3 separate regions of the Homo sapiens genome follow, and regions 1 and 3 are each linked to region 2. The links are contacts of gene promoters, found by promoter capture Hi-C in blood cells and fetal thymus (Javierre and others, 2016). All regions are on one chromosome and are shown on one strand. The core of a region is centred on a gene start or on the middle of the fragment in contact, and the rest is flanking DNA. Distances in the headings are between cores, read along the strand shown.

Evidence for each region. The method cuts DNA at HindIII sites, captures the fragments that hold promoters and counts their contacts. A CHiCAGO score of 5 or more calls a contact.
Region 1: a contact is called between the fragment with the promoter of TNFSF12 here and the fragment with the promoter of ZBTB4 in region 2, in 13 of 17 cell types (total CD8 T cells, naive CD4 T cells, naive B cells and 10 more). The highest score is 9.5, in total CD8 T cells.
Region 3: a contact is called between a fragment that was not itself captured here and the fragment with the promoter of ZBTB4 in region 2, in 1 of 17 cell types (naive B cells). The highest score is 5.9, in naive B cells.

Annotation. Positions count from the first base shown.
Region 1 is chr17:7,547,551-7,551,525 of GRCh38, reverse strand. TNFSF12 (TNF superfamily member 12) reads right to left here and starts at 2,468. Exons shown (of 7, transcript NM_003809.3): 1 at 2,214-2,468; 2 at 2,005-2,052; 3 at 1,331-1,406; 4 at 674-727; 5 at 548-583. The coding sequence starts at 2,372. TNFSF12-TNFSF13 (TNFSF12-TNFSF13 readthrough) reads right to left here and starts at 2,468. Exons shown (of 11, transcript NM_172089.4): 1 at 2,214-2,468; 2 at 2,005-2,052; 3 at 1,331-1,406; 4 at 674-727; 5 at 548-583. The coding sequence starts at 2,372. RefSeq lists silencers at 2,274-2,353, 2,384-2,573. The HindIII fragment of the contact is 9,939 bases long and covers 1-3,975 here.
Region 2 is chr17:7,477,196-7,480,970 of GRCh38, reverse strand. ZBTB4 (zinc finger and BTB domain containing 4) reads left to right here and starts at 1,340. Exons shown (of 4, transcript NM_001128833.2): 1 at 1,340-1,515. RefSeq lists silencers at 984-1,243, 1,264-1,723, 1,984-2,033. The HindIII fragment of the contact is 9,560 bases long and covers 1-3,130 here.
Region 3 is chr17:7,386,377-7,389,994 of GRCh38, reverse strand. It overlaps TNK1 (tyrosine kinase non receptor 1), which reads right to left. Exons shown (of 13, transcript NM_003985.6): 8 at 3,340-3,434; 9 at 2,841-3,005; 10 at 2,538-2,617; 11 at 1,291-1,589; 12 at 1,112-1,207; 13 at 253-1,024. The coding sequence ends at 911. It overlaps PLSCR3 (phospholipid scramblase 3), which reads left to right. Exons shown (of 8, transcript NM_020360.4): 8 at 1-268. It overlaps TMEM256-PLSCR3 (TMEM256-PLSCR3 readthrough (NMD candidate)), which reads left to right. Exons shown (of 10, transcript NR_037719.1): 10 at 1-268. Among named protein-coding and RNA genes, the nearest start is that of PLSCR3, 6.3 kb to the left of the region's middle. The HindIII fragment of the contact is 3,374 bases long and covers 597-3,618 here.

The sequences.
Region 1 (3,975 bases), core at 1,219-3,718, 69 kb before region 2:
AAATTAGGTTGAGACCAGACCACGAAGAGACTGGAAGCCATGTAGAGAGCCAATACCACAAGAAAAGTGAAGTTTAGGGGCTCAGCATGGCAGCACAGGTCAGATGGAGTGGAGGGGTAGGGAGGGTGTGGAGTGGGGAAGCAGCAAGAGGCTGGATTTGAGGTTCTGAGGTCACGGTGCTGAGGTAGAGGGTGGGGTAGAAATGGAAAAGATGAGCAGACACTAGCAGCATTTAGAGAAAAAGATCATCAGAACGTGGAATATGGAGGAGACAGAAGAAAAAAGAATGAAAAGTGCTTCTTGGAGAAGAATGAGGGCTGAAGGAGAGAGCTGGGACAGTGATTTGCTGGGGGAACTGGGCAGAGTTCTGGGGAAGAGTAGGGGTCTTTCATGGGGTCCCACGCCTGGGTCACAGAGAGAACCAAGACCTTCATGAACTGGCTTCTGTGGTTCTGAGACTGATGGCCGGGAAGGGAGTGGGAGGTCAAAGGTTTTCAAGGGCCCTTTTCCCAGGAGGCCAGTGCTGTGTCGGGGGATGGGGTCTCACCTGCCTGCGCTCCGTCCTGTCCAGGTCGTGGATGAACTGTAAAGTACAGGAAAAGGCTGGTGAGACCTGCCCTGACCCTCTGCCACCTGCCCCTCTCCTCCTGGGTATGGCTCACCCATCACCCACCTTCATAATGGGCTGCGATCGCTCTTCGAGCCCGTGTTTTCCGGCCTTTAGGTGCTGAGGATCAAGGAAAGACAGATGAGCAAAGCGGGCCCTAGTGGGGGTCCCAGAGCAACTCTCCCAGCCCCATTCCCCTCTCAGGAACCCTGGCATCCTTATTCTTGTCCAGACTCCTGGCCTTAGAATCTCAGGCCTCATCTTCCTCAGTAAGTAGAGTGACTATAATTTGTCATCCACACTGGGATACTGCTGAGAGCAAAACGGGAAGCTGCTATTAATCACACCGAGATAACAGGTGGGGGCCAGGACAACTGCATGCCGACTTGGACACGTGGTCATCCGGCCACCCCATCATCCCATTCCTAAGTCTCTTTGCCTACCGGGGCCCAGGCCTCTGACTGCCAGGCCTAGTCTCCATCAGGATCCCAGTAGTTCTTCTAACTCATGGCCACCCTGCCTTCCTGTTTGGGGTAGGGTCTGAAGGAGCACATCCATATGACAGAAGGAGCTTCAGAGGAGGGCGAGAATCCCTAGGTTTGAGTCTTGGCTGGTTAGCTGCATGACTCTGAACTCCTTTCACCCTCCGTGCCTCAGTTTCTCCCTGTGGATAATGGTTTTTGCTCTGCCCGCTTCCTGAGGTTGGGATAGAGGGATGCTCACCACTTCTGCGAGGCCGAACTAGTCGGTTCAGGAAAGGCGCAGGATCCTGGCTTTCTTCTGTCTGGGGATTCAGTTCCTAGGGGAATTAGGGCAGGGTTCAACCACAGACTCCCAGAGATATAAAGTGAGACATACGGGGCCTGTCAGGAGAGCCACCAGCCAGCAATAGACACAGAAGTCAGGGACAGATTAAGCCCCTCAGCCAACTACAGCTGGGGCCCCGGGCAAAGGTGAAGCTGGGAGTCAGGCCCCAGTCCTCACCCTTTCCTCTAGACCAGCTACACTTTCCCACCCACACACACAACCAACGCAGACCCTGCATTCAATTGGCACATTGCACACATGCCCGCACCCAGTCACCACGCACAGAGGATACACACCCTGTACACAACCGCACCCCTCTTCCACGCAGACTCACATATCTTATACAACCACGTCACCCCCAGCCAATAAACACCTCAGACTCAGGTGGCACAACCCCAGCACAAACCCCTCACACAGAGTTGTCACCACGCACACACACCCCTGCAGACACGCACCCATGCACGCACTGTGTTCACACACACCCTGCACACACCTCGAGTACGGCTGGCACAGCTGCACACACCTGCAGCCTCGGCTGTGCACACTTCCCATGCCCCAGCAGCCTGCAGACCGCGCCCACGCCCACTCACCGACGGGTCCTGGTCCTCCTCTGCCACCAGCTCCTCCTGGGCAGGCTCCTGCTGGGAAGGAGGGAGCGTCACCCTGTGCCGCTCCACCTGACATCTCACCCTCCACCCATCCTCCCTTCCCCTTGCCTTCAGCCCACGCGGCCCCCAGCGGCCCCTCTGCAGTCTCAGCTCCTGATGTGCCCAAGAAGGGGTGCGCAGCGGGGCCTCACCTGGGCGGACAGCGATGCCCGGCTCCCCAAACTGACCACGGCCAGCAGGAGGCCGAGGCAGGCCAGCGCCAGGCCCAGGCCCAGCGCGAGCGGGACCAGCAGGGCGGTGCCCGGCTCCCCCCGGCGCCCCCTCCGCCTCTGGCTCCGACGGGCGGCCATGGGGGCGGGGGGCTGTGCCTGCCTCACCGCCCCCCCATCCCGGGACCCGAGGGATCGGGGGAGGGGGAGCCGGCGGGCGGATCGGGCCGGGGAGAGGGAGGGGCAAGGGAAACGGGGCGGGAGGGGGCGCTGGGGACAGGAAGCCGGACGCTGTGTGTGATCAAACTCCGAGCCTCTCGCCGGGCGCTGTGCGCGCAGCGAACGGAGTGGGCGCCCACCCGACCTCTGAGCGCCCAGCCCGGGCGTGCACCACCAGGGCGAGGTCCGTTGCGTGCGGCCGCGGGAGCGACGGGGCTATGCGTGTGCGGGCACCTCCTGCGGGGAGGTGGGGAACTCAGGAAGGCCTGTTGGTTCAGATTCTTCTGTGTCCCTGTGTCTTCAGAGATAAGGACCCTCCTTTCCCCCAGGTGCAGGGAGGGCGCCTCTCGCAGGAGGCTGTTATTTGCTTCTTCAGGAAAAGGGCAGGGAGTTCCAGGTTGTATGACCTGGTTCAGGGAAGAAGGGCAGGAGAAGGTAAGAAAGATCCTTCGGCTTCTGCGGTTTTCTCAAATTCCTTCAGCTTAAAACACTCACTGTGCCGGTAGCACGTTCTGAAGCCCATCATTACCAATGATTGCCAAGCATCTGAGGAGGACCAGCAGCATGCAAAAGAAACACCAAAATTGGTCCGGCAGGTGGCTTACGCCTGTAATCCCAGAAGGCCAAGGCTGGGGGCCAGGAGTTCAAGATCAGCCTGGGCAAGAGCAAGACCCCATCTCTACAGAAAAGTTTTAAAAAATTAGCCCACGCCTGTAGTCCCAGCTACTCAGGAGGCCGAGGTAGGAGGATTGTTTGAGCCCAGGAGTTTGAGGCTGCAGTGAGCTGTGATTGCACCACTACACTCCAGCCTGGGCAACAGACCTTGTCTCAAAAAGAAAGAAAGAAAGGAAGAAAGAAAGAAAGGAGGGAGGGAGGGAGGGAGGGAAGGAGGGAAGGAAGGAAGGAAGGAAGGAAGGAAGGAAGGAAGGAAGGAAGGACCAAAATTGGCTGGGCGCGATGGTTCACGCCTGTAATCGCAGCACTTTGGGAGGCTGAGGCGGGTGGATCACGAGGTCAGGAGATCGAGACCTGCCTGGCCAAGATGGTGAAACCCTGTCTCTAATAAAAATACAAAAAAATTAGCCGGACGTGGTGGCAGGCGCCTGTAGTTCCCAGCTACTCGGGAAGCTGAGGCAGAGAATTGCTTGAACCCAGGAGACAGAGGTTGCAGAGAGCTGAGATCACGCCACCACACTCCAGCCTGGGCAACACAGCAAGACCCTATCTCAAAAAAAAAAAAAAAGAAAGAAAGACCAAAATTAACAAACAAAATTTGACATTGGAGGAAACAGAGATAATTCAGGATACAAAGAGTACTACCTAATATACTTAAAGAGAGTCAAGAAAAAGCATCCATAGAGCTGGGCATGGTGGTGCATGCCTGTAGTCCCAGCTACTCAGGAGGTTGAGATGGGAGGATCACCTGAGCCTGGGAGGTTGAGGCTGCAGTGAGCTGTGATCACACCACTGCATTCCAACACGAGCAACAGAGTAAGACCCTGTCAAAAAAAAAAAAAAAAAAAAG
Region 2 (3,775 bases), core at 91-2,590:
CCATGCTGGTCTTGAACTCCTTACCTCAAGTGATCCACCCCACCACCCCCCGCCTCCCAAAGTGGTGGAATTACAGGCATGAGCCACCGTGCCCAGCCCAACTCTGCTTCTTTTCTATTTATGTCTCCATGACTCCAAAGTTTGTCTGATTCTTTTATTCTTTTTATGGCTAGCTCTGTGGCTTTACATTAATTTGTTTATTTATATCTTGCATGGTTTCAGAGAGGTTTTTTTGTTGTTGTTTTTTTTTTGAGACGGAGTCTGTCTCTGTCGCCCAGGCTGGAGTGCAGTGGCGAGATCTCGGCTCACTGCAAGCTCCGCCTCCCAGGTTCACGCCATTCTCCTGCCTCAGCCTCCCGAGTAGCTGGGACCACAGGCGCCCGCCACCACGCCCGGCTAATTTTTTTGTATTTTTAGTAGAGACAGGGTTTCACCGTGTTAGCCAGGATGGTCTCGATCTCCTGACCTCGTGATCCGCCCACCTCGGCCTCCCAAAGTGCTGGGATTACAGGCGTGAGCCACCGCGCCCAGCCTCAGAGAGGTTTTAAGGCAAGGAGCTGTGAACCCTGGCTCCTCCATCTCCTTAGTTTTTAATTTTCCAGCACCAGGGAGGAGTTCTTGGGATTGTCCCTGTGGAGTTTCAGGAATGTGTTTTTTCTGTGTGTGCTTCCACCTGGTGTTTTGTTGATGCTGTCCCCAGAGGCCGACACCAAGGCCTCTGCATTTATGTTCAAGTATACAGATGTGGATCTATCTGCTGGTGGGGACAAAGTACCCAGCCAGCTTCATGTGTTCATTTGCGCTGGTGGTCGTTCGTGTGTGCCCCGTATGCAGGGCCAGGGCCTTCTTTTTCCGCGGCCTGCTGAGCTTTCCTGCGCATTCCTGGAGAGGGTGTGTGTGTGTGTCCAGGGCTGGCCCTCTTTGAGTGTGCCGACCCTGGGTCTGTGAGTCCCACCGGGCCTGATTATGAGTCTGCCATGTCATGTCTGCACCCTGAGAGCCTGTGTGTTATGCTTTCAGGCAGTGTGCACCGCTGAGTGAAGGGCGTGCAGGAGGAAGGGCGGAGGGAGCCCTTTCCCTGGGGGTCGGTGGTCTTGCGCCCCTGCCGGGATGCTGCAGCCCGGCCCGCGCCCCGCTCGGTGTCCACCCGCCCGGTGGCCCAGCGCGGCGCAGTGTCATGCCGCGGGGGTCAGTCCTGGGGAAGGCCGTCGGGCGCTCGGAGCTTTGTGTCGGTGTCGGCTGCGCTGCGCCGGCCTCCTCTCGGCGGCGGCGGCGGCGGCGCTGGGGGGGGACTGTTTCCGGGGGTGGGGGTGGGGGTAGGACCGGGGCGGGGGGAGCCGATGATGTCAGCGGCGGCGGCGGCGGCGGCAGCGGGGCCGGGCCGGGGCCAGGCGCTGGGGGGGCCAGGGCCGGAGCTGGAGCCGGAGCCGGAGCTGGAGGCGGGCAAAACCGGAGCGGCCGGGGGCGGCCACGGTGATGAGCCGGGCCTGGCGGACGCGGCGCCATCGCAGTCAGGTGGGCCCTGGGGCGAACTGGGCAGGGCCAGGGCGGACCGGAGCCAACTGCCAGGCCCCCTCTCCGCTGCCCGGCGCTGCGGGAGCCCCGACCGCGCCCCGCGCCCAGACCGCTCTCCTTTGGGGTTGACCTGGGGGCGCAGGGGTCGGGGGCTGAGCCTGGCCCCGCCCCCGGGCGCGCACGACGCTGGGGGGCGACTAAGGGGGCCCTGGTATGGCGTCCGAGCGAGGGGCGGCCGTGGGACGCGATCGCCTGGGGCCGTGGAAGGGGAGGTGCTCACTCCCTCTTTGAAGGGTTAATTCTGCAGCCTAATGGCCCCCTCCCCCCGTGGGGCAGATTGGGGGTGGGGTGGGGCGGGTGTGAGCCCGGGCAAGCGCTGCAAGCTGCTGGGAGGGTGATGGCGTAGGAGCCAGGCAGAGAGGGGGAGGGGTGGGCCGCCGAGCGCCCCAGAGTTGGGGTGTGCGGGGTGCGCAGGGCGAGCTGGGGCCCCGGAACCGCCGCGCCGTCGGGGCAGGGTTGTGGCTGTGAGTCTTGGAGATCGTGTGTCTTGTGCTGTGTGGTGGGGCAAGGTAAACCTCTCCTGGGCACCACCGTTTGCTGGCAGCCAGGGGTCTGGGTAGGGCCCTCCCTGGGCCATGGAGATAGAAAGCCAGGAAGGGTGTCCAGTGTTGTGGGGCAGAGTTACAAGACGAGCCCTGTGGCTTTGGGTGACAGATGGGTATTCTGAGCAGGGCACAGCATGCTGGGTGCAGAGTTTGTTCGATGTGGGGCTGTATGTTTTCTACAGCATGTGTTTTCTCGCATGTGTGTCTTGTGCTGCACCTATGACCTGTTTATGAACTGTTTTCTGCAGAGCTGGCATGCTGTATGTGTTGCGGAGGGTGCCAGGATGCAGTGTATGTGCCCTTTTGGAGGGGGCGGTTGTGGGCCTTTGAGTCAGAAGGCGTCACGTCTGGGTCCCATTTCTGTGGCCCTGCTGAGGTGTGGTCCAGTGGTGAAGAGGGCGATGGATGGGTTTGCGTGTCTGTGATGAGCGCGTTGCATGGGGGCTGCGCGTCTAGAACTCAGATCCCAAAGATCATGAGAGGAGCGAGGAACCCCGGGGTATGTCTCAGGGGCCTGTGGGTCAGTTGGCACTGGTGTGAGGGGCTCGAGGTGGAATGCGCCAGTTGTGTTTATGGGATCATGGGCAGCCAAGCGAGGGGAAGGTTGTGTGTTTGCAACATTCTCCACAGGATTCTTTTGTGACGTTGTTTGTAGGAGCCTGTCTGGGCTGCTGAGCTGGGAGGCAAACTGGTCAGAAAACACATGTGGGGAGGGAGGTGGCGTGACAAGGGCAGTGTGGGCCTCAGACCCAAGAGGCCAGCCGCAAGCAGGCTGTGTGTGCGTGCCTGCCGTCTGTGTGCTTAAGTGGCGGTGGGGCTGCGGAGGGGATTTGGTATGAGGAAGGCGGGAGATAAATGCAGGGTAGCGCATGGAGGCCGGCGGGAGGCATGGGTGTTGTCAGATGGCCCAGCTAATCTTTGCAGGGTCTGTATGTTTGCCCCTCATGAGCCTGCCCAGCGTGTCAGGGTCACCCGGAGGAGAGGCTGGGCGGCCACAAGGGAAGTAAGCTTAGACAGAGAGGCTCCTTGGCCATGTTTATGTAAAGGCTGGGTGTGACTCTTGTCACTAAAATGGAAAAAAGAAACGTGAAGTTTTCAGCCTCCTCCTGCTTCACCCTCTCCCTCTCTCTGCCCCCCTTGTGGGTATCTCTGACGCACACTGGGCCCCACTCCTGCGACGGTGGAAGGGCCTCAGAACAGAATTCGCTCACTAGGCAGATTCCTCAGAACAGGTTTTCCTCACCTTTGGGGACTGGGCCCTTCTAGGGGTGTGTGTGCAAGTGCATTCCAAGCCTGCACACCACTGTCTACTGTGCCCGGCCCCACTGGAAGGATGTGTGTACGTGGGGGAAGGGAGGGTGCTGCGGACAGGCCCTCCGGCATGGGGGGCTGGGAAGGGGTGGCTGCCGTGGGAGCCTGCTCAACAGGTGCACAGTGACGGTCTGGTGAAGAGAAAGGAGCCATGGTCCAGGGCTGAGGAGCTCTGGCGTCTTTACCATTCCCTCACTGGCACTTGATCTGAAGGAAGCTCAGTTCCTCATCTGCAGAATGGGGCTGATTGTCTGCCCTGCGTATCTTCCAAAAGCACATGGGAAACGGACCCGGAAAGTGGCTATAGTCTGGGGGCTGTGCCTATGCCAGCCCCTGTCAGCCCT
Region 3 (3,618 bases), core at 1,034-3,533, 92 kb after region 2:
ACCGCCCCCCCGCCGCTGCCTAGCATCTGCTTGGCCAATTAGTTCAGCCTCAGACCATGGCACTTTGAGGGGGTCTCTACCTCCCCATCAACAGCTGCAGGGGGACCCCAGTGCCAACTTCCTCTCCCACTAGGGCCCTGCCTTCAGCTGGTGCTTGCTGCGATTCCTGTGCCTTATGTAACTGCCCTTCCTTCCCTTGCCCTAGGAAAAAGGCTGCATCTTTATATGTTACATTCATATAAACTTTGTAACTTTTTGGACATTGAAAGATGTATGTAATAGGGGAGGGTAGAAGCAGTTGGTATGGGAAAAAACAAAGGGGAATGTGAGAGCTGGGCTGGGGCAGGGGCTAGTCCATCTCATAATCCATACTACCAGCATCAAATGTCCTTGAGTGCAAGAGAGCAATCGTCATCACCCACGATGGCCCTGGACCAAACGAAGGCAGTTTGGGCCTATACCCCAAGTCAATATGGTGGCTTCCATCATCCAGGATGGCTGCCCTGCAGAGTCCAGTGTGGTAGCTGATGGCAGTTCAGGATGGCTGTTCACATGGTCCAGTGTGGCCCCTTGATCCTCTCTAGCGCGTAGAAGCTTCCTCTGCATATGATGTATAGCAGCTCTTTTCTTCCAAGTCCTCTTGTTTGAGAATGTAGTGGGCAGACTAGATCCTTCTTGGCCCAGCCAAAGGAGCTTCAGCCTTCAGAAGCCAAGGAGCATGGGAGGGAGGAGACATTTGCCAGTGCCCAACTCTGGGCTCCTCCTCCATGTGCCTACGGCAGGTGGGATCTCCCCAGGTGGAACGTCTACCCCTGTCGGGACCTTGTTCTGGTTCCGCTTGGTCCCATGTGGCCAGGCCCTCAGGGGCCTAGGCTTTTCATGCTGGTGTCTGTGCCCGCAGAAGCTGAGCTCAGGGCCTGGCCAGGACATAGCGGCTGGCAGCTGAGAGGTCCCACTGGTAATGCTCCAGGATGCGCCAGCAGTCAGCTCTGGACCGGCTACTCAGGTGGAAGAGCTGATCTACCTGTGGAAGCAGGAGGGTGGGTTGCAGCTGACTGCCAGGCGGCAGGGGCAGGAGAGGAGGGACCCCAAGAGAAGGGGCTGGCTTTACCTTGAGGTTCCGGATGGCAGAAACCACATCTCCCCCAGTGGCTCCTAGTGCTGTCTGGCACTCCTGGTGGGTGACCCCATGCACACTCAGCTCCACCTGTGACAGACAAAGCCTCACTCAGGCCCCTGCCCCTGCCTGTAGCCCCTTCTGGACACCAGGCCATTTCAGTGAGACCTCACCTCCATAATCTTCCTCTGCAACTCAGGATCGGACAAGAGGCCTCCAGAGAGGGCAGCGGCTTTACGGGCTCCAGGCATTCCCATGGGGTGATTGTGTGGGGGTTTTCTTTTGGGCCAGGGAAGCCTCTCCCTAGAGGGCTGGCTGGGCTGAGGAGAGCTAGAGGATAAAGGTGGGCGTGGAGGCAGGCCTGGAGGTCCCTGGGGCACAGCTCTGGCTTGTCGAATTTCAGGGGGGCTTGAACCACCCCCTGTGGGACGAGGACCGAGGGACAGAACTGACTCCAGACTCCTGGAAATGCCTGCACAGTTGAGAAGGAAACAACTTGAACTCGGCTGGCTGCAGCCTCCGCCTCCCGGGCTCAAGCGATCCTCCCACCTCAGCCTCCCGAGTAGCTGGGACTATAGGTGCCTGCCATTACGACTGGCTAATTTTTGTATTTTTGTAGAGAAGGGGTTTCGGCACATTGCCCAGGCTGGTCTCAAACTCCTGGACTCAAGCCATCCACCCACGCTGGGCTCCCAAAGTGCTGGGATTACAGGCTTGAGCCACCATGCCTGGCCCCACTCTCTGTCTTCATCTGTGCTGAGCTGGATGGTTTTGCAAGCATTTGCAGATGAGCTAGCCAGCCCTGTCCCTGGGTGGTTCATGTGTCAGGTGGGACAATAAGACAGATGGGCAAGTGGACACCAAGGCCTAGGCGGAGGGCCCAGAGAACTCAGAGCTCAGGGCCCAGAGTGTGGAGGTGCTCTTCAGAAGGGAAGGCAGGAGGGCTTCCTATCTTTTAAGATTCCACAGTATAGGGCCGGACGCAGTGTCTCACGCCTGTAATCCCAGCACTTTGAGAGGCCGAGGCAGGCAGATCACCCGAGGTGGGGAGTTCAAGGCCAGCCTGGGCAACAGGGTGAAACCTCATCTCTACTAAAAATACAAAATTAGCCGGGTGTGGTGGCACATGCCTGTAGTCCCAGCTACTCGGGAGGCTGAGGCAGGAGAATCGCTTGAACCCGGGAGGTGGAGGTTGCGGTGAGCCAAGATCACGCTACTGCACTCCAGCCTGGGCAAAAAGAGTGAAACTCTGTCTCAAAAAAAAAAAAAAAAAATAGATTGCACAGTATAGCTAGGATGCCAGCAGACAGAATTCAGAGGAAGGAAATAATAGATGCAAAGGCATGGATTTAGGGCAGGGGGTCGGAATTGAAGGACTGGTCTTGATCTCCTCAGAGACTCTGGAGTCCACCACACCCACCTTTCATCCTCTCCAGGGGCATGTTCCTCCTCTGGCCCCGTGCTGGGGGCGCATCCCAAAGATTTGCCTTCTTTCTGTCTCTGTCGGAGAGGGATCCAGTTCATCCTCCACACCAACTCTCCCCACCCCACAGATCAATATACCCTCCCAAAAAAACTCACAGGGGAACCCAGGAGACCCAGGGCCCAGGGTGGAGGCTGCAGCTTCACTCTGGTCCTGTCCCCAGGCTTCTCTTCCAGAGAAGCTCCTGGACCTCATCAGTTCTCCCAGCCAACCCCTGCCCTCACCCTTTCAGGTCCTCACCCATCTATGCTTCCTGGGTGTTGATCTCCCCGGGCAGGGGTGCCTCTGTGGACTGGACGGGTGGCTGGCAAGCCCCCCGCATCTGCCAGCGTCACTGCCGAGGCTGGGAAGCTGCCCACTTTGAAGGTGCGACCATTCTGGCCCTTCCAGATTGTGGAGTCGGGGCTGTGGAAAGAGGAGCTGGTAAATAGGATGGGAATAAGGGCAAGAGTTAGGGCTGGGCCCTGGCCCACAGTCAGCTCACTAGGCTATGTGCCTTGGAGCCGCATCTGCCTGGAGGAAGGGAAGCCTTTTCCCTAATGCAATAAGGCTCTATGGGCCAGCAGTGGCTCCAGCAGGGAGGCCAGGACCATGCTGGAGCTTTCAGGACCCAGTGGGGAGAGGAGATGAGACAGAAGATCAGGGTTCAAGGAGCTGGAGAGAAGCAGAGAAGGGATCAGGAATTAGGCTGGGAGGGTATCCTCCTCCTGAGGGTGCTTGGGAGGTATGGGACTGTCACCTGCCCTCGATGACTGTGATGGGGTCACCAGTCTCCATCCTCAGGGCGCCTGGTTCTGTGACATCCCTCACACAACATGCTTCCGAAGGCCCGGCCTGTGGAGACAAGAGGAAAGGGTGGCTGGGCTTGTGGCCTGAGTCAGATAGGTAATATGGGAGCAGGAATAAAGAGGAGCTCCGCTCTGTATGTAGTCTGTGCTGGGCCCAGGGTGGGACTCTCCCTGTCCCCCCATTGTAATTCAGTGAGGGAGGCAGACCTGGATCCCATGACAAACAGGTC